7 separate regions of the Homo sapiens genome follow, and all the other regions are linked to region 4. Evidence: promoter capture Hi-C in 16 types of primary human blood cells and fetal thymus (Javierre and others, 2016). All regions are on one chromosome and are shown on one strand. Each heading gives the region's core, a stretch centred on a gene start or on the middle of the fragment in contact. The rest is flanking DNA. Distances are from core to core; before and after follow the strand shown.

Evidence for each region. The method cuts DNA at HindIII sites, captures the fragments that hold promoters and counts their contacts. A CHiCAGO score of 5 or more calls a contact.
Region 1: a contact is called between a fragment that was not itself captured here and the fragment with the promoter of CELA1 in region 4, in 3 of 17 cell types (megakaryocytes, endothelial precursors and naive B cells). The highest score is 5.9, in megakaryocytes.
Region 2: a fragment that was not itself captured here is called in contact with the fragment with the promoter of CELA1 in region 4 in 1 of 17 cell types (endothelial precursors); the score reaches 5.2 in endothelial precursors.
Region 3: a contact is called between a fragment that was not itself captured here and the fragment with the promoter of CELA1 in region 4, in 4 of 17 cell types (endothelial precursors, activated CD4 T cells, naive CD4 T cells and 1 more). The highest score is 8.6, in endothelial precursors.
Region 5: the fragment with the promoter of TMT1A here is called in contact with the fragment with the promoter of CELA1 in region 4 in 12 of 17 cell types (fetal thymus, endothelial precursors, M0 macrophages and 9 more); the score reaches 9.7 in fetal thymus.
Region 6: a contact is called between a fragment that was not itself captured here and the fragment with the promoter of CELA1 in region 4, in 1 of 17 cell types (erythroblasts). The highest score is 5.7, in erythroblasts.
Region 7: the fragment with the promoter of HIGD1C here is called in contact with the fragment with the promoter of CELA1 in region 4 in 6 of 17 cell types (total B cells, fetal thymus, erythroblasts and 3 more); the score reaches 8.2 in total B cells.

Annotation. Positions count from the first base shown.
Region 1 is chr12:51,022,167-51,024,866 of GRCh38, reverse strand. All of the region lies in intron 1 of SLC11A2 (solute carrier family 11 member 2), which reads left to right. Among named protein-coding and RNA genes, the nearest start is that of SLC11A2, 2.9 kb to the left of the region's middle. The HindIII fragment of the contact is 2,447 bases long and covers 56-2,502 here.
Region 2 is chr12:50,859,511-50,862,210 of GRCh38, reverse strand. The region is part of intron 3 of TMPRSS12 (transmembrane serine protease 12); the gene reads right to left. Among named protein-coding and RNA genes, the nearest start is that of TMPRSS12, 18 kb to the right of the region's middle. The HindIII fragment of the contact is 1,515 bases long and covers 518-2,032 here.
Region 3 is chr12:50,837,226-50,839,965 of GRCh38, reverse strand. No RefSeq gene overlaps it. Among named protein-coding and RNA genes, the nearest start is that of TMPRSS12, 4.3 kb to the left of the region's middle. The HindIII fragment of the contact is 2,750 bases long and covers 1-2,697 here.
Region 4 is chr12:51,345,337-51,348,036 of GRCh38, reverse strand. CELA1 (chymotrypsin like elastase 1) reads left to right here and starts at 1,358. Exons shown (of 8, transcript NM_001971.6): 1 at 1,358-1,414; 2 at 2,160-2,242. The coding sequence starts at 1,399. The HindIII fragment of the contact is 4,543 bases long and covers 1-2,700 here.
Region 5 is chr12:50,923,669-50,926,368 of GRCh38, reverse strand. It overlaps TMT1A (thiol methyltransferase 1A), which reads right to left and starts at 1,354. Exons shown (of 2, transcript NM_014033.4): 1 at 833-1,354. The coding sequence starts at 1,330. RefSeq lists enhancers at 474-1,017, 2,031-2,240. The HindIII fragment of the contact is 3,129 bases long and covers 267-2,700 here.
Region 6 is chr12:50,980,720-50,983,419 of GRCh38, reverse strand. It overlaps a transcript of SLC11A2 not described here. Among named protein-coding and RNA genes, the nearest start is that of HIGD1C, 30 kb to the right of the region's middle. RefSeq lists a silencer at 1,527-1,727. The HindIII fragment of the contact is 5,684 bases long and covers 1-2,700 here.
Region 7 is chr12:50,951,111-50,953,810 of GRCh38, reverse strand. HIGD1C (HIG1 hypoxia inducible domain family member 1C) reads right to left here and starts at 1,267. Exons shown (of 5, transcript NM_001109619.4): 1 at 1,096-1,267; 2 at 552-606. It also overlaps a transcript of SLC11A2 not described here. RefSeq lists an enhancer at 685-1,185. The HindIII fragment of the contact is 11,450 bases long and covers 1-2,700 here.

The DNA.
Region 1 (2,700 bases), core at 30-2,529, 320 kb after region 4:
GGAGGGGAATTTCTGGGTAGCCTGGCAGCACTTCTTGTTAAGGAATGGGGAAGCTTCTTATGAATCTAATCTTACTCTAATGTTAGGAAATCAGCAGTGGTCCCTTGGATTACTCTACAAAGCTAGTAGGCAGCTTTGGTTCAGTTATGACTCAGTGAAGGTTAGAGAATTATATCTACAAAGTAGGATCTTTTTCTTTCTTTCTTTCGTTTTTTGATACGGAGTTTCGCTCTTGTTGCCCAGGCTGGAATGTAATAGCGCGATCTCGGCTCACTGCAACCTCTGCCTCCCGGGTTCAAGCGATTCTCCTGCCTCAGCCTCTTGATGCCTGGCGAATTTTTTTTGTATTTTTAGTAGTGACGGGGTTTCACCATGTTGGCCAGGCTGGTCTGGAACTCCTGACCTCAAGTGATCCACCTGTATCGGCCTTCCGAAGTGCTGGGGTGGTGTGAGCCACCGCGCCCTGCCAGATCTTTCTTGTTTGACTTTCATTGCTAAGAATTTGGGTGAGTGTTGTTGAATCAAAGACATCTTTATTCTCTGCCTCCTCACCATGCACATACGTACAAATGTCTGCTGACAGATATCTGCCCTTCCTATGGCCTTAAAAAGCCTTCTCATATTCTCGTGGTGCTATCTGGGATACACCAGTGGAAGACTGCTTTGTCTTCTAATTCTTCCCTTCAAAGAAGCGGCTATTTATACACATAGCATTATTAGGAACTAGTCAGAAAATGAGAAACTTTAAGTTTATGAAAAAAAACATTGCTTACTTCAGCTGCATGCTGGCCAAATTTAGTTGAAGTGCAGTTGGTATAAGTTTAGTTGTTTAGTTTTGGAATAAGAGAGTTCAAGACTTCCCCTCCCACCCCCCACAAGACAAGGTCTGGCTCTGTAACCCAGGTTGGAGTGCAGTGGCATGATCACAGCTCACTGCAGGGTTGACCTCCCAGGCTCAAGTGATTCTCCTGCCACAGCCTCCCTAGTAGCTGGGAGTACAAGTGCATGCCACCACCCCTAATTTTTAAAAATTTTTTTGTGGAGATGGAGTCTTACTAGGTTGCCCAGGTTGTCTTGAGCCCCTGGGTGCCAGCCACCGTGCCCAACCAGTTTAATACTTCTTTAGGATTTAAAGTTGGAAGTTGGCCTGGTAAGAGTGAAGGACAATGTCTTTGTAATCTGTTTTTCCCTGAGAGGCATGGGAATGACACCTTTAAAGAACTGAGTGTGTTTGAGGCAGAAAGGGAAGTCTGCTGCCCTAATATTGTCATTATTATCATCTCTCTGAGGCTCTGTAGTTTGAGTAAAACATTCTGGGAAAAAAGGTAGGGGCATTTGAATGAGCGGAATATAATGAATTAGAAGATGCAGACCATGTCTCACTTACTTGCTGCCATTTATTCTTTATTTTTATATTTTTGAGACAGGGTCTCGCTCTCTTGCCCAGGCTGGAGTGCAGTGGTTCAGTCTTGGTTCACTGCAACCTCCACATTCCAGGCTTAAGCGATCCTCCCACTAGAGCCTCCTGAGTTGCTGGGACTACAGGCTTGCGCCACCATGCTCAGCTAATTTTTAATTTTTTTGTAGAGTTGAGTTCTCACTATATTGCCCAGGCTGGTCTTGAACTCCTAGGTTCAAGCAATCTTCCTGCCTTGGCCTCCCAAAGTGCTGGGATTACAGGCATGAGCCACTGCGCCCAGCCTTGCCATTTATTCTTTTTATAATTTAACAAATATTTATGGAGCAATTTACATTAATTGGCCCCTTGAGACACAAAGAAGAGCCTTCAAGGCATCATCAGGAATATTCTAGATACAATAAAATGACATGTATATAATAAGGTATATTTTAATGAAATCATAATGGAATATAAAACAATTGGCCAGCAATGATCAAAATGGCCTAACTTCTCTTCCACTTTTAATTTCAGGTTAAAGTAATTTATATTTTTTGGCATAAGGAACAAATTAGGGTTTTTAGTCTTGTTTTGGTGCTTATTGCCGATAAGTCATTTTGTGTCAGGTTTGTGTTTGTTTTGGTCTCATCTCTACTAAGCTGATAGCTGTTAAAACTCCTAGGAAATGAAAGAAGAAAGCTACAAGTTAATTATTAAAACTTTACCAGGTTTCAAAGAGCAGAAAGAGGCTTGTTAAAGGCTGGAGAATCTTGTAGTATATATTGTCTTAATTTTTCTTTGCTTTTAGGAAAAGAAACTTGGAGGACAATATTTACTTAAAGTTGTTAAGGTCAATCTACATCATTTGGGAGCCAATATCCATCATTAGGAAAAATGGGTTGAATGTAATCTAATGAAAATTCTTCATATTTGCCAGAGAAAAGCTACTTAAGTGTGAGGACAAAACATATTTTCTGAGGCAAGAAGTAGGTATAGGCTGGTTTAATAGGGGATTTTTTTTTTTTTTTTTTTGGAAAAAAGTAATTTTTTTTTTTTTTTAATGGAGACTGGGTTTCTTGCTATGTTGCCCAGGCTGGTCTCAAGCTTTTGGGCTCACGCAATCCTCCCGCCTCAGCCTCCCAAAGTGCTAAGGGATTACAGATGTGAGCCACCATGGCCAGTCTAATAGGGAATTTTCTTATTCCAATAGAAAGGGGTCTTTGAAATTGTTCACAGAGCTTGGCATTGTGTTCCATGATAGAGGTGTCAGATCAGGAGGCCAGGTTTGTCCCCCAAAAGGAAAC
Region 2 (2,700 bases), core at 26-2,525, 490 kb after region 4:
CTGGAGAACTAATTTAATTCTCAAAACAACTCTCTGATGGGTATCATTGCTCTCACTTTAAAGATCATGAAACTGTATGACATTGTGAAAGATGATATATTAGGCCGGGTGCACCTGGCTCACGCCTGTAATCCCAGCACTTTGGGAGGCCGAGGCAGGTGGATCACGAGGTCAGGAGATCAAGACCATCCTGGCCAACATGGTGAAACCCCGTCTCTACTAAAATACAAAAAATTAGCCGAGTGTGGTGGCACGTGCCCGTAGTCCCAGCTACTGGGGAGGCTGAGGCAGAGGAATCACTTGAACCCAAGAGGCAAAGGTTGCAATGAGCCGAGATTGCGCCACTGCACTCCAGCCTGGAGACAGAGCAAGACTCCCTCTCAAAAAAAAAAAAAAGATATATTAATAATACAGTGGAAATACATGAGATTTGCAACAGGCAGAACTGGGCTTGAATTCTGACTTCATCGTTTAGTTATTTTATTAGTTTAAGCAACTTATTTAACCTCTTTAAGCTTTATTTTACTCATTCATTTTATAGTATTTTCTGTAGTGTTGCTGGGGGTATTAAATGAGATAATGCATTGCAATGCTTAGCATTTTATTAAGTACTGGGCCCTAAACAAACGGTAGTTGCTTCTATTATTGTTCTAATTATTATTAAAGAGTCAATAACATGCCCATGGTCATTCAGCTAGCACAGAGCAGCAGGCTGGGATTCAGAATTAAGTCCGTGAATCTAAAGCCCATGTTCCTTTCCCTACACCATGTTGCTTTCCTTATCTTCTTTAAAAAGTATTCACAGATGGAAAAAAAAAAAAGAAAAATAATAATTCACAGGTCTTTCGTACATTTATCTACATCCTAGCTAAATAATCCACAAATATTTAAATGGCTAGGGCCTGTGGGGAATAGGAAGAAAAAAGAAGTCTTAGTACTTAACCTCATATATTCCTAACAGGACAATGATTCCCTCAAGAGCAGTTTAATATAGTTATTAAATATTCAGGCTTTAGAATAAAAGACTTGGGACTTGGATTTGAGTTCCAACTTCTTAACCTCTAAGATTCTCAATTACTGGTCTGTTAAATGGGGTAAAAATAACATTAACTCCCTTTTAGGAATATTGGGGGCATAAGATAAAGCAGTATATTTAAAACAGGACCCAGGACAGGCATGGTGCTCATGCCTATAAACCCAGCTACTCAGGAGACCGAAGCGGCTAGATTGCTTGAGGCCAGGAGTTTGAGACCAGCCTGAGCAACACAGCAAGACCATCTCTTAAAAACAAACAAACAAAAGCTGGGCACAATGGCTCATACCTGTAATCTCAGCACTTTGGGAGGCTGAAGCAGGAGGATTTCTTAAGACTAGGAGTTCAAGACCAGTCTAGGAAACATGGCAAGACCCTGTCTCTACAAAAAAATGAAAAAATTAGCTGGGCATGGTGGCACATGCCTGTAGTCCTAGCTACTTGGGAGGCTGAGGCAGGAGGATTACTTGAGACCAGGAGGTAAAGGTTACAGTGAGCCATGATCGTGTCCCTGCACTCCAGCTTGAGTGACACAGCAAGACCATGTCTCTTAAAAAACCAAAACATACATCTATACATACATAATACGTTTTAAAAAGCTGGGCGTGGTGGCACATGCCTGTAGTCCCAGCTATTGGAGAGGCTGAAGCAGGAGAATTGCTTGAGCCCAGGAGTTTGAGGCTGCAGTGAGCTATAATTATACCACTGCACTCCAGCCTGAGAGACAGAGTGAGACCCCCATCTCTAAAAAAAAAGTGTTTTAAATAACAACAAGAACAGAAACAGGGCCTGAAACATGGTAAATGCTCCCAAATGGTGGTAGCTCTTATTACCAAAGAGACTGTGTCGTCTATGTTTTTATTCCTCCCATTAGTTGGGTCAGTTAACATTTACTGCCCCTAAGTACACTAAAAAAATATATCGCAATCATCTTGCCTGATACTAAACAAGGCATTAAATTAAAAGGAAACTAAATATGATTCTTCATAGCCAGAAGCTTATTACTTAAAATAGAGAACTCTGCTGCAGAGCTGGCTTCACCATCTGTGAGTTCAAACTACAGAAACACTTGGAACTATCATTCTATCTTAACGTTCAAGTATCTTGGCATGTACAATCAGAGAAAGTCTCTATTTCTGCTTTGGAAAAGAATTTTCTCTCCTATCCCACAAGGAAAAATAGACCCCTCAAAAAGTTGTTTTCAGTGTTTTATAAGAACCTATAATACTTTTCAATCTCATGGCATAAAGTGATAAAAAAATACACAGAGTGAAACACAGTCAGGCATCACTTAATGATGGAGAACATTCTGAGAAATACATCGTTAGGCAATTTTGTTGTGCAACCATGATAAGAGTGCACTTACATAAACCTAGATGGTATAGTCTGCTGCACACCTAGGGTAGATGGTATAGCCTGTTACTTCTAGGCTACACACCTGTTCCGCTGTACTAAGTATTGTAGACAGCTGTGATACAGTAGAAAGCATTTGTATATCTAAACACAGAAAAGGTACAGTAGGCCAGGCTTAGTGGCTCATGCCTGTAATCTCAACACTTTGGGAGGCTGAGGCGGGTGGATCACAGGAGGCCAGGAGTTCGAGACCAGCCTGGTCAACATGGTGAAACCCTGTCTTTACTACAAATACAAAAATTAGCTGAATGCCA
Region 3 (2,740 bases), core at 73-2,572, 510 kb after region 4:
GGCTTTGGGGAGGCTTTATCCTCCCACCTGGGGCATGTCTCAGTGCTAGCAATTATGAAAATAAAACTATTTGATTACACAGAATTTAATAACAGTACAAACATCCATGTATACACCACCCCATTCACTACATTTGTTTTACTGAATATTTAATACATATAAAAGGATATTTATAAAATATATGCTCAGTTTAAAGAATAACAGTAGAAGAATACCCATTTAAGAAAAAGAAGATTATTTTTGCTTTTGAAATCCCCTGTGTATCTCTCCCTCATTCTGTCTTTATTTTTCTCTCAGAAGTAACCAATATTCTGGATTTTGTATTTATTTCATTTATTCTCGTTATAAACCTTGCCGTACAGTATGGTAGCCCCTCACCACATGTGACAATTTAAGTTCAAATTTAAATTAAATAAAAATTCAGTTCCTCAGTCACATTAGCCATATTTTAAGTGCTCAGTAGCCACATGACACTTGTTACCATACTGGGCAGCATAGTTGTAGAATATTTCCACCGTTGTGAAGAGTTCTATTATACAGCACTGCTTTAAACAATATATTTTTTAGTTTTGCATGTTTTTGAACTTTATTACTCAGGGTTCTCCAGAGAAACAGAACCAACAGGAGAGTGAGGAAAAAAAAAGAGAAAGAGAGATTTTAGGGATTGGCTCACATAATTACGGAGGCTGAGAAATCCCACAGTCTGCCATCTGCAAGCTGGAGAAACAGGAAAAGCTGGCAGTGTGATTCAGTCTGAGTCTGAAGGCCTGAGACCCAGGAGTGTTGATGTCTGAGGACAAGAGAAGATGTCCCAGCTCAAGAGAAATAATTTGTTCTTCTTTCACCTTTTTGTTCTGCTGGGGACATCAACAGATTAGATGATGCCCACCTACAGTGGCGAGAACAATCTTCTTTGCTCATTCTCCTGATTCCAATGCACATCTCTTACGGAAACACCCTCACAGATACTCCCAGAAGTTGTGATTACCAGCCATCTGGATATCCCTTAGCCCCATTAGGTTGACACATAAGATTAATCATTACATGAGCTTTATATAAATGGAATCATATGATAAATTTTCTTTTGCAGCTAGTTTTTGTTTTTTTACTCAGCATTAGGTTCTTTACATTCATTTCTGTGGTTATCTAACTGCAATTCATTTACTCTCTCCCACACATCATATGCATATGCCACAATGTATTTATCTACTTTGGAATCTATTATTGATGGATATTTGCATTATTTCCAGGTTTTTTCTATTACAACTAATACTACTATGCATATGAGATGAGTCTCTCTGGACTACATACTAGTGGTAGGATTACTGAGTCATAAAGAATACCATCATCTTCTCCAAATAATGCCAAATTGTTTTCCAGAATGTTTCACCAATATTCTCTTCAAGCCAGGCATGGTGGCTCACACCTGTAATCCCAGCACTTTGGGAGGCTGAGGTGGGAGGATTGCATGAAGCCAGGAGTTCAAGACCAGCCTGGGCAACATAGCAAGACCTCATCTCTACAAAAAATTTAAAAAATTAGCTGGGCATGGTGACACATGCCTGTAATCACAGCCGCTTGGGAAACTGAGGTGGGAGGATCACTTGAGCCTAGGAGGAGCTCAAGGCTGCAGTGAACCATGATCATGCCACTGTACTCCAGCCTAGGTGATAGAGTGAGACCCTGTCCCTAAAAATAATAATTATTATATATATACAGATATATACACACACCCATATATACGTATACACACATATATATACACATATACATACTCATCAACTAGCAACATATAAATGTTCCCATTGCTCATGTCTTCACCGATGCTTTTTCTTTGTGTGTGTGTGTGACGGAGTCTCACTCTGTCACCCAGGCTGGAGTGCAGTGGTGCAATCTCGGCTCACTGCAGCCTTCATCTCCCAGGTTCAAGTGATTCTCCTGCCTCAGCCTCCCGAGTAGGTGGGATCACAGCCGCCCACCACCACACCTGGCTAATTTTTGTGTTTTTAATAGAGATGGGGTTTCACCATGTTGGCCAGGCTGGTCTTGAACTCCTGACCTCAAATGATCCACCCGCCTCGGCCTCCCAAAGTGCTGGGATTACAGATATGAGCCACCACGCCTGGCCTTTAGGCATTGTTTTTCTTTTCTTTCGCTTTTTCTATAGGTTCTGCCAGGTTGTAACAAATGCTTTTTAATTTTTTACCTATCTTGTGGGCAGGAGTTGGGAATTGTGGTTTTAGTTTGCGTTTTTCTGATTTTGAATGAGTTTGAGTATTTGAATATCTTTTCATATTTTAGGGAACATTCATTGACTATTTCATGTTGAGTACCAATTTATGTCATTTATTTGCTCATCTTTGTCTTTGCATGTTGATTTCATTGACTGCCTTCTCCATGCCAGACCCTGTTGTAAGAGCTTAGGCTATAACAGAACACAAAACAAAAGTCCTTGCCATCATGAGATTCACATATTGAATCATAAGAGATTTTTATAGGTCCGGATAATAATCCTGTTCCTGTTCCATGGTGAGCAGGTCTATGCAAACCTACCCCCAAAGGCTTGAGGGAGCCAATAGGACAAGGAAAGAGGCTGACAAATCCAGTTTCTCAGAAATATTTAATAGGGACTTAGAAGTAATGTCTCTGGTAGCTGAGAGAGGGCACCCAACCTCCAGAAAGTATAGATAGCAAGCTTTTAGGGTTAAGATGTGCAGCTGGTCACATCTGACTTTCTTAT
Region 4 (2,700 bases), core at 109-2,608:
TATTTATTTATTTATTTATTTATTTATTTATTTATTTATTTTGAGACAGAGTCTTGCTCTGTCTCCAGGCTGGAGTGCAGCAACCTCCGCTTCCCAGGTTGAAGCGATTCTCCTGCCTCAGCCTCCAGATTAGCTGGGACTGCAGAAGCGCACCACCATGCCCAGCTAATTTTTGTATTTTGTTTTTGTTTTTTTTTAGATGGAGTCTCGCTCTGTCGCCCAGGTTGGAGTGCAGTGGCGCGATCTCGGCTCACTGCAAGCTCCGCCTCCCGGGCTCACGCCATTCTCCTGCCTGCGCCTCCCGAGGAGCTGGGACTACAGGCGCCTGCCACCACGCCCAGCTAATTTTTTGTATTTTTTTAGTAGAGACGGGGTTTCACTGTGTTAGCCAGAGTAGTCTCAATCTCCTGACCTCGTGATCCGCCCGCCTCCGACTCCCAAAGTGCTGGGATTACAGGCATGAGCCACCGCGCCCGGCCAATTTTTGTATTTTTAGTAGACGGGGTTTCGCCATGTTGGCCAGGATGGTCTCGATCTCTTGATCTTGTGATCCGCCCGCCTCAGCCTCCCAAAGTGCTGGGATTACAGGCGTAAACCACCGCGCCCGGCCGCAACTCCCTTCTCTCTCCTCTACGAACTGTGATGAACAAAGCCTTTCATCTCCTGCAGGAACCTCGGCTCCTACCCTCGTTCTCCCTCTGCCCTCCACCCTCCATCTACCCTCATAGCCCTCAGACTGTCTTCACATCCCAAGGATCCCCTCCTCTACCCTGCCTCATATTCTCCTCTGGGAGCCCCTTCTTGGCTCTCCATCTGAGAGGGCCCAAGCCTGTTTCTCAGTACTTTCCTCCCCCAGAATTATCTCCACTGCATCTATTTGGCTTTTGTGTCTGCATTTACACCTATGCCTGCATCCTGGGGGCATGTGCCATCTCCCTCTTTGGGCAGAGAGAGTTGCTGTGTCTTCCTTGCCCTTGCTAACCACTCCCCCCTCTTCCACTATCCCCCTGGCCTCCAGCTGCTAGTGCACAGGGCAAGTCTCTGCATTTATGGTGCCACTGAGGACAACGAGAGAGTGATGGATGACAAGGGGTGCTCCCTTAGAGAAAAACCAGCCCTGGTTCTCCATCTTATTTCTGAAAAAGAGTTTGTTGGATGCTTTTCAATTAAAAGCAGATGATTAATTCAGCCCTGGCCTTGTTCTGTCTTTGAATAACAGATACATTAGTTTACTTGAAAAGAAATATTTTCATTTGTATTTCCATGTCACTTGTGATTTTCCCTGCCTTGCACCCTCAGCCCTGCCAGTTGGCAAGAAGACAGTCAGCTTTGCTGCTAAGAGGAGTATAAAGAGGGCTTGGTCCAAGCAAGAAGGCAGTGGTCTACTCCATCGGCAACATGCTGGTCCTTTATGGTAAGTGGATATGGTCCAGTCGCAACCCTGGTCCTTTATGGTAAGTGGATCATGTGGCCTGAGGTCTATAGGGAGGGGGACTTGGGCAGGAAGGTCAGCAAATTTTCCCTAAGTCCAGGCCAGCACCCTGTCCCAGGGCAGGTGGGACGCTCTGCCTGCAGAGCGTCCTTTACTCTCCTGGAGGCCAAGATAGAAAAGGTCAGGGCCACTGGCTATTCAGGCCCCTCTGGGTGGCAGGTCCCTGGGCCACAAAGCAGAGAGAAGCCCCATCTGGTAGTGGGGTGGGTCCCTGGGCTTCCCCACCACCCCCATTGACAGGAGGACTTCCTCAGCAGGTGCCTGGCTGGGGTGTGCACTGCAGGCCCTGAACCCTGGAGAATCTTGCCAAAGCATTAGGGGGCTGGTGGGGGTCAAAGAGTGGGGGGGGGTCTCTTCAGGCCAAAGGGTGATCTTGAGCAAAGAGGAGACCACAAGGAGCCTCTGGGGCCTAGCCTGGTGGTTTGAGAGAGGTCCTTCATAGCATGCCGGAGTTCTGGGAACACCTGGGGGAAACAGAAGGCACCCAGGCACCCCTGTTTTCAAAAGGGGCTCAGAGAACTCACAGCTGGGCCCCTCATTCGTTAGAGAGGAACTGTGAATTTGCAGACAAGGCTAACATTCCTCAAAGCACAATCGCCACCCCCCACCCCTACCCCTGGCTGACCCCATGCTTAGTCATCACTCACTTTTCTTCTGCCCCACAAAGGACACAGCACCCAGGACCTTCCGGAAACCAATGCCCGCGTAGTCGGAGGGACTGAGGCCGGGAGGAATTCCTGGCCCTCTCAGGTGGGTGTTCCTTCCCAGCCCCAGACTTCCACCCAAATAAGAGCTCAGTGCATGACATAAGGTATCATGTGTATTTGTGCATGTCCCTATCAACAAGCAGCTCTCCAATTGTCTAGGTTCTCGATTTTAAAGATGGATGGGATCAGGCTTAGGTGGTTTTCTAAATGCAAAAGGCTTGGAGGAGGGGATTTATACACCAACCACAGTCCCTCTTCAAGGCACACACCCAAACACAAGATACATTTATATTCTCAGCGACAGCACTTGTGCCACGCAAGAAAGACTGGGTGCCAGACAGTCACCTTGGACTCCACATACCTTGAAACTCACACGCACACCACTCCACACTGTGTGTGTCACAATGCTTGCACGCATGTGCGCGCACACACACACACACACACGTACAGCATGCTGCTTAGTTGGCTATTTAGAGTTTCCACTTTGCTAACAGGGCAGCT
Region 5 (2,700 bases), core at 105-2,604, 420 kb after region 4:
TCCCCTAAACCCACCCCAACCCTATACTGACCTTAAAAGAAGTCCCTAACAGTATAATAGGTAAAATTAGTATCTCCTTTAATTAACTCTTTAAGTTTGAGCACTTTTGTCCTATAATTGGTTTACATTTCTGTTCCTGTTATTTGCCCATTTTCCCTTTTGTTTTTCTTATTGAAAAATATTGATCTTATTGACATGTAATGTCTTTTAACATGAGGGAAGTTAACCCTTTGTCTATCATCCCTGGCAAATATTTTTTCCAAGCTTGTTTTGTAGTTTAACTTTGTTTTGGGGAGTTTTTTTTTCTTATTCTTTTTTTTCTTTCTTTCTTTTTTTTTTTTTTTTTTTTTTTGAGATGGAGTTTCACTCTGTTGCCTAGGCTGGAGTGCTGTGGTGCAATCTTGGCTCACTTTAACCTCTGCCCCACCAGGTTCAAGCGATTCTCCTGCCTACAGGCACCTGCCACCATGCCTGGCTAATTTTTGTATTTTTAATAGAGATGGGGTTTCACCATATTGGTCAGTCTGGTCTCGAACTCCTGACCTCAAGCGATCTGCCTGCCTTGGCCTCCCAAAATGCTGGGATTACAGACGTGAACCACTGTGCCCGGCCAGGAGGTTTTTTCTTTATAGCAGTTTTAAGTTTTTATATTCAGATTTATCAATCTTTCTCTTTATAGCTTCTCTCCCACGCTAAAATTTTAAAAAATTCTACAGTATTTTCTAGTAGTTTACTTTTTATGTTAAAATGTTTCAGCCACCTGAAATTGACAGGCCTGCCCTCTATGATAATAGCTGCTACTAACTAGTCCTCCTCACACCCTTTCACTCACCGGTCTCAGCACTCTGCACACCTCGCGGAGAATCCGCTCCTGGTTCTTCACAGAGCACAGCACCAGGGTGCAGACCACCACATCCACAGAGCCATCAGCCACCTGGTGCATGTTCTCCCCGGCAGCTACCACAAAGCGCTCAAACTGCAGGTGTCGGTTCTCTGCAATGCTCTTGATCAAAAACTTCTCAAAGTTGGGGTTGGGGTCAATACAGGTCACCCTGCACCCAGGTGGGTAGAACTTGAAGTTGGCCCCCGTGCCACAGCCCACTTCCAGCAGGGAGAGTTTCCCGGAGGGGCCCGCAAACTCCTGCAGGTTACTGAAGAGCTCCCGCTTCTTGCTTGCCATCTGTTCGTTGTATATCACAGTGAACCTCACCAAGAAGTAGGGGAACCATTTTTTGCATATCCAGCTCCACAAGCCCAGAAAGTTCAGCAGGTACAAGGGAAATGTCAGGATGTAAATGGCCAGTCTCAGGATAAAGATGGTAAGCTCCATTGCTCAGAAGGGAAAAAAACAGATCAACAGTTAGAGACCCGACTCCTTTAATTGCAGGAGAGAGGCTTCTGGCCACACTCCAGAGCCAATCAGCTGCAGAGGAGAAAAAGAACTGGCTGTGCTGGAAAGTCAAATCATGGGCAAGAGGCCAATTTTGCCTAATAGATGTTTGGCAGCAGTCGATTCAGCTTAGTTTTCATAAGGCAAAATGAGAAGGTTCCCAGCTTTTCCTCAGAAGGAAAGTGGATTATAATCCTTTATTCCTAATCGATTCCTGTTTCCCCTTCTCTGGGTTTGGAGACAGCTGCTAGCTTCCTGCTAGAGTTTTATAAGCGCAGTGTACTTACACCCCACCGGGCTCTCCAGTGACCTCTAAAAGAAAACAGAATTCGTGGGTGGAGCCTGGTCAAACCACACCAGAAGAGTGCTGCCAAGGCCCCTTTATCATAACACATCCCCCTTACTTCCCCCGCCCAAACCCTGTTTTTTTTTTTTTTTTTTTTTTTTTTAAAAAAAAAAAAAGGAAGTGAAAGGACATGCATGCCCGGCCACAGTCAGCAAGAATTCTCTCTTTTACATTCTGGGCAGAGGCTCTCAGTGTTCACAACTCAACGTTTTTGTAAACCAAAAATAATGTTCTAAGGCCTCTAACCATCTGAATGGACTTTCTCCTTGGCCAGGGCGCTTTTAAAATTTAACTTGAGAGATTGTTTCAGGCCATGAGGGGAAGTGGGGGTCAGATATGCCTCATTATACCTCAAGCCGGCATTCACATCAACGCAGACCTTAAGTACATTTACAATCTATTCTCTCTGAAGCCTGCTACTTGGAGGCTTCATCTGCATAATAAAACTTCAGTCTCCACAACTCTTATTGCAACCCAGACATTTCCTTTCTATTGATCCCAGGTCTTTAGATAAACTCAACCAATTGTCAACCAGAAAAATTTAAAACGTACCTATAACCTGGAAGCTCCCTGCCTCGCGTCGGGTTGTCCTGCCTTTCTGGACTGAACCAATGTATTTCTTAAATGTATTTGATTGAAGCCTCATGTCTCCCTAAAATGTAGAAAACCAAGCTGTACCCTGACCACCTTGGGCACATGTTCTCAGGATTTCCCGAGGGCTGTGTCACAGGACATGGTCACTCATATTTGGCTCAGAATAAATCTCTTTAAATATTTTACAGAATTTGACTCTTTTTGTTGATATTTTAAAATCACTGTTTTGGGCTGTACTTCCCCTTTTAAAACAATTTTTGGCTCAAGGAAGTCAGTTTGTGGGCTGCCCTTCTTTTAAAGGACAAGCCTCAGTCTTCAAAATGTGCCTAACTACTCGATTACTCAGCTAATTTGGATAAAAATATTTCCC
Region 6 (2,700 bases), core at 138-2,637, 360 kb after region 4:
ATATTACACTAAAATAGGGATAGTTGCTACCAATAAATTTATAGTCTGCATTCTGCATTAACTTAGAGGCTGTTGGTGCCAAAGGATAACAATAAAAGCTCTGCGTAATAATAATAGGGCTAAAATGAGACTCAAACTTGTCTCAAGGTGTATTCGAGAAGAGAAAAAGTAAAAAGAAATAACTTCATAGCCAGCCTAGGAAACATGGCAAAACCCTGTCTACAAAAAAATTAGCTGAGTGTGGTGGCACACGCCTATAGTCCTAGCTACTTGGGAGGCTGAGATGGGAGGATGGCTGAAGCCCAGGAGGTAGAGGTGGCAGTGAGCCAAGATTGTGTCATTGGCACTCCAGCGTGAGTGACATAGTGAGGCCTTGTCTCTACAAAAAAAATAACAACTTCACAGGTCCCAACACAAACCATCTAGACTCAGTTCTTTAGGAGTGGAGTCTGGAATTGTGGGTTTTTTTTTTTTTTTTTTTGACGGAGTCTCGCTGTGTTGCCCAGGCCGGAGTGCAGTGGCATGATCTCAGCTCACTGCAGCCTCTGCCTCCTGGATTCAAGTGTTTCTCCTGCCTCAGCCTCGTGAGTAGCTGGGATTACAGGCATGCGCCACCATGCCCCGCTAATTTTTGTATTTTTAGTCGAGGGGTTTCGCCATGTTGGTCAGGCTGGTCTTGAACTTCTGACCTGAGGTGATCCATGCGCCTCGGCCTCCCACAGTGCTGGGATTACAGGCATGAGACACCGTGCCCAGTCGGAATTGTTTTTTGTTTGTTTGCTGTTTTGTTTTTTGAGACGGAGTCTGACTCTGTCGCCAGGCTGGAGTGCAGTGGTGCAATCTCGGCTCACTGCAATCTCTGCCTCCTGGGTTCAAGTGATTCTCCTGCCTCAGCCTCCCGATTAGCTGGGATTACAGGTGTGTGCCACCACACCCAGCTAATTTTTTTTGTATTTTTAGTAGAGACGGAGTTTCATCATGTTGGCCAGGATGGTCTCGATCTCCTGACCTCATGATCCGCCCACCTTGGCCTCCCAAAGTGCTGGGTTTACAGGCGTGAGCCACCGCACCCAGCTGGGAATTGTGTTTTAAAAGCAGCTTCGGTGATTCTGATGCAGGCTGACAAACATTTGGGACCCACAGGTCATCTTTCTCCCTCTTGGTACATGCCATTTCATGTTTTTGTTTTTTAAATGAAAGGCTTTTCTCTGCTCCAGTGCCAAAGGATAATAGGGCTCAGGATTGAAACCATTGGGAATTTGATTTCTAATTCACACAGTAGTAAAATACAAAAGCATTCTGCTTGTTTGTTCTTATCCTGATTTGAAGCACCCATCCTTAGGCAGAGTGTGTCACAAGAATAGTCAGAGTGCTAATTTTGCTAAGGACATTTGGTACCATCTCAGTCCTTAACTATTTCAGCTCCTACCTGTTATTTTGCATATCAGAAGCCATTCATGTATGTATCTGTAAGCCATTTCTTTTCTGAAATAAAAATCAATATAGCAGTACAGAAAAAAAGGCCTAAATTGATGTGCTAATTATAGGTACTTAAAAGCTGATTTCAATAAATACGTGAAAATCAGTCTAACCCTCTTCCATCTTTTTTTCCTTAGTGCCATCTGGGATTGACAGCTCAGCCTGAACTCTATCTTCTGAACACCATGGACGCTGACTCACTTGTGTCTAGATGACTGACAGCCTGAGAGACTCTATAAGAACATGTTTTTCTAAGCCCTTTTTGTGCCAGGTGTCCCGTTAACGTCTCTGTTAGTTCAGAGGTGAGTTTTGTTCAGACGTTTTGAACAAAAGGCAAAGATTTCCTCATGGGAAGGGTGTTCAAAACTGACAGCTATAAATGTAGGTCAGAGACCCACCCACCTCATAACAGTCATACACTCCCAGAGTTAAACGATTGGCCTCTGATGGCCACACACCCCTATGGGCTTGTGTCTTGGACTCTGGGATTTAAAAGATATATATGTATATATATTTATGTAAACCTGAGCATCTCAGTTTGGGTAGAGTTTTAAGGTTATATGAAACTGATAGAACTTTTGTATTTTTTTTTTAAATATTGTTTTGATATATCAGATATTTGTTTTGTCTGGATCACAAGTGAGAAAGAAAAGAGAACAATGCTCTTTTTCACAATGAACTGGTCAAATTGACTATCTTGTAAAGTGATACTTTACTATGTCAGTGAAATTTCAGTTTGATTTTAGTCAACCAGATTATATCCTTTGTATCTACTGATATTAACACATCATATTAACACATCATTTCTTAAAAAAACATTTCTTCTGTTTGGCAATCATAATTAACTCTGGTTATCAGCCTATTTTGTAATTATTGTCTTTGTCGTCACTTTTCTTGAATTGTTTTCTAGTCATTAAACAGATATGAAGGCATTGCCAAAGAGCTTTAATATCCAGTAACAAGATCCAGAAACCACACTTTAACCAGTGATCAGTTTTCCGTGCTGCATTGTAACTCAGCTCATTCTGGCATTCAAGTTTTAGGCAAAAAAAGAGGAAACTTCTAACATTTAGCTTGTAAGTCCTGACATAAGATAGTGAAGATATTTATCTTCTTTCTAATATTTGTATAGTCCGCCAATGTATTTTCTTCCCACTATTCCCATTAACATACCAAACACTGTTTCTAGGTCCAAAGTCTATTTCTAGGAGTGGCCAATAT
Region 7 (2,700 bases), core at 18-2,517, 390 kb after region 4:
AGGGGAAGGGGATAAGAAAAAAATACATAGAGGAAATGATAATCAGATTTCATGAATACAGAGTAAAAACACAGATCATAATGCTGTTATTCAGTCTCCTTTCCACTGCTCAGCATTTGAGATCACTGGGAACCTCAGGACTTCTTCCACAAGCACTGTATTTGAAGAACACATTTTCTTTTTAAAGTATCATTTTAAAGAAGTATGGCAGTGCCAACATAGGCAAAAATACTTCCAGATTTACAGGTATTGGGAGAATGATCACTTCAACTCTGCAGAATGTGCAGGGCATTATAAAGTCATTCAGATATTTACCAAGCACCTACTGTGTGCCAGTTGCTATGCTAGACAATGGATTCCTTGTCTAGCCTGGCTTGTCTACATAGGATGAATGAAGAAACTTGCAAAAGCAACTATAATCACAACAGATTTAGCAGCGCCTGAGTCTGTTCCCTGTGCAGCTTATTGTGTTCACCCCAGAATTCAAATACAGCGGCTTCATCCTATGAATGAGACTTCATCAGAAAACTTAAGCGTAAGAAGCACAATACCTGTGGCACACCCCGCCACCTGCTGTCTGTCTCCTGTTGTTCCTTCAGCAAGAGGCTGTAGATCAGAACAGGTGTTTGTTGTAAGGCCAGGACACGATGTGCAATTTCCAACTAATTGATAATGGGAAAGCCCAGAAACACGCCCCAGGGGACTGGGGGAGTGGTCGGCTGGTATTGGCCAAGATTTCCAGCACCCTGCTAGAAACTCACCAGTAGCAGCCTGGGCCACAAACTAGGCTTTTGAAGCCAACATTAAGAAAAACATGAAGGCTTTGGAAGAAGATGCATTTGCTTAAGTCTGCCTTCACAAGGGAGCTCCTGACTTCCCTCTGTGACTGTTGAGTCTTAGTACCTGACTCCTGGGCCCAAAATTGAGGGGAAAGAGGGCACAGGGTCACAACACTGGGCTTGGAGGGGAAGGGGAGAAGATAGCCATCAGAGGCCAGGATTCTTGCCATCCTTCGGAAACACGCCCTAGCCAGAGGAGGTGCGCTCCCTGCAGTTGGAATCTCCGGCTGAGGCGATGAGAGCCCGCCGGGCTCACCTGGCGGTAAGGCCATCGCAGGTGCGCCTCCTGCAAAGCCTCGAGCTGCACACGCGCCCAGGGGAAAGACGTGACGTTGCTGCACCTGTGGCTAGTCCCTGCGCCTGTGTGTGAGACCTGAGTGGGGCTGTGGAGACCCGAGAGGCTGTGGCTCTTGAGGTGGGTCGGTGGTGGACGTGGCCTTTGCTTCTGTTCTGACCTTGTAGCCTTGGGGCCCCTTGAGACCTTGGAGAACACCTTGCTCACCGCCTCCCTCCGACTGCAGCCATGTGGACCTAGAGATGAGGGCAGAGGATCAGGTAGCGTTCATGGTTTTTCCCTTGTAACTTAATGTTTAAATAATTTCAGACTTATAGAAAAGTCCCCAGAATAGTACAAAGAACTGTGTGTCTGGTACCCGCATTTTCCTTTATTAACATGTTTCTTTCTTTAAAAAATATTTTTGGCGAACCACCTGACAGTAGCAGACTTATGCCTTTTCTTCCATATACTTTTGTATGCATTTGGGGCATTCTTTTATTATATAACCATAGTACAGTGTTCAAAATCAGAAACTTAACATTGATATAATTCTGTTTTTCAATCTAAAGATTTTATTCATATTCACCAGTTGTCCCAATTATGTCCTTAATAGCAAAAAAAAAAAAAAAAAAAAATTTCTGGTCTAGCATCCAATTAGGATCATATATTGCATTTAGTTGTCCTGTTTCTTTAGTCTCCTTTAGTCTGAAACACCTTCCTAATCATCTTTGTCTGTCTTGACCTTGATTTTTTTTTCTTTTTTTTTTTTTTTGAGATGGAGTTTCGCTCTTGTCACCCTGGCTGGAGTGTGATGGCGCAATCTTGGCTCACTGCAACCTCTGTCTCCTTGGTTCAAGCAATTCTCCTGCCTCAGCCTCCCGAGTAGCTAGGACTATAGAAGCGCCACACCACGCCCGGCTAATTTTTTTGTATTTTTAGTAGAGATTTTGTTTCACAATGTTGGTCGGGCTGGTCTCAAACCCCTGATCTCAGGTGATCCACCCACCTTGGCCTCCCAAAAGTGCTGAAATTACAGGTGTGAGCCACCGCGCCCAGCCGACCTTGATGTTTTGCCAGTTATTTTGTAGGATGCCTCTCAATCTAATCCTGTGTTCCCGTCCCCTCCCCCAACTCATGTTTTCTCACTAGATTGAGGTCATACATTTTGGGCAGAATATGACAAAAATGATGTTGTGCTCTTCTTAGTGTGAAATATCAGGAGACACAGAAAGTTGAATTGCCTGGTGGTAGTTAACTTTGATCCAGTGTGGTGCTGACAAATGTTTAACAACTCAACTGGCTCTGGAGGGGGAGATATTGCCCTGTTCTGTGGCATTTGCCATTGCCCCATTCTGTGTTGTAAATATTCCCACCATGCCCAATTTCTAAATAGAGTCTGTCATCACGGAACACAAAGTTGGGAAATGTCCCTTTCCTGGGTTGGTAGGAATGGGCTCTAGCACACCACTGCTTTCATCATGTGGATTAACGTGGTGTCTGCCTGGTTCTCCACTGTGGTTACTTTTTTTTCTCCCTTTTAATTAATAAGTAGTTTCTGAACAGGTACTTTAATATTATACAAAT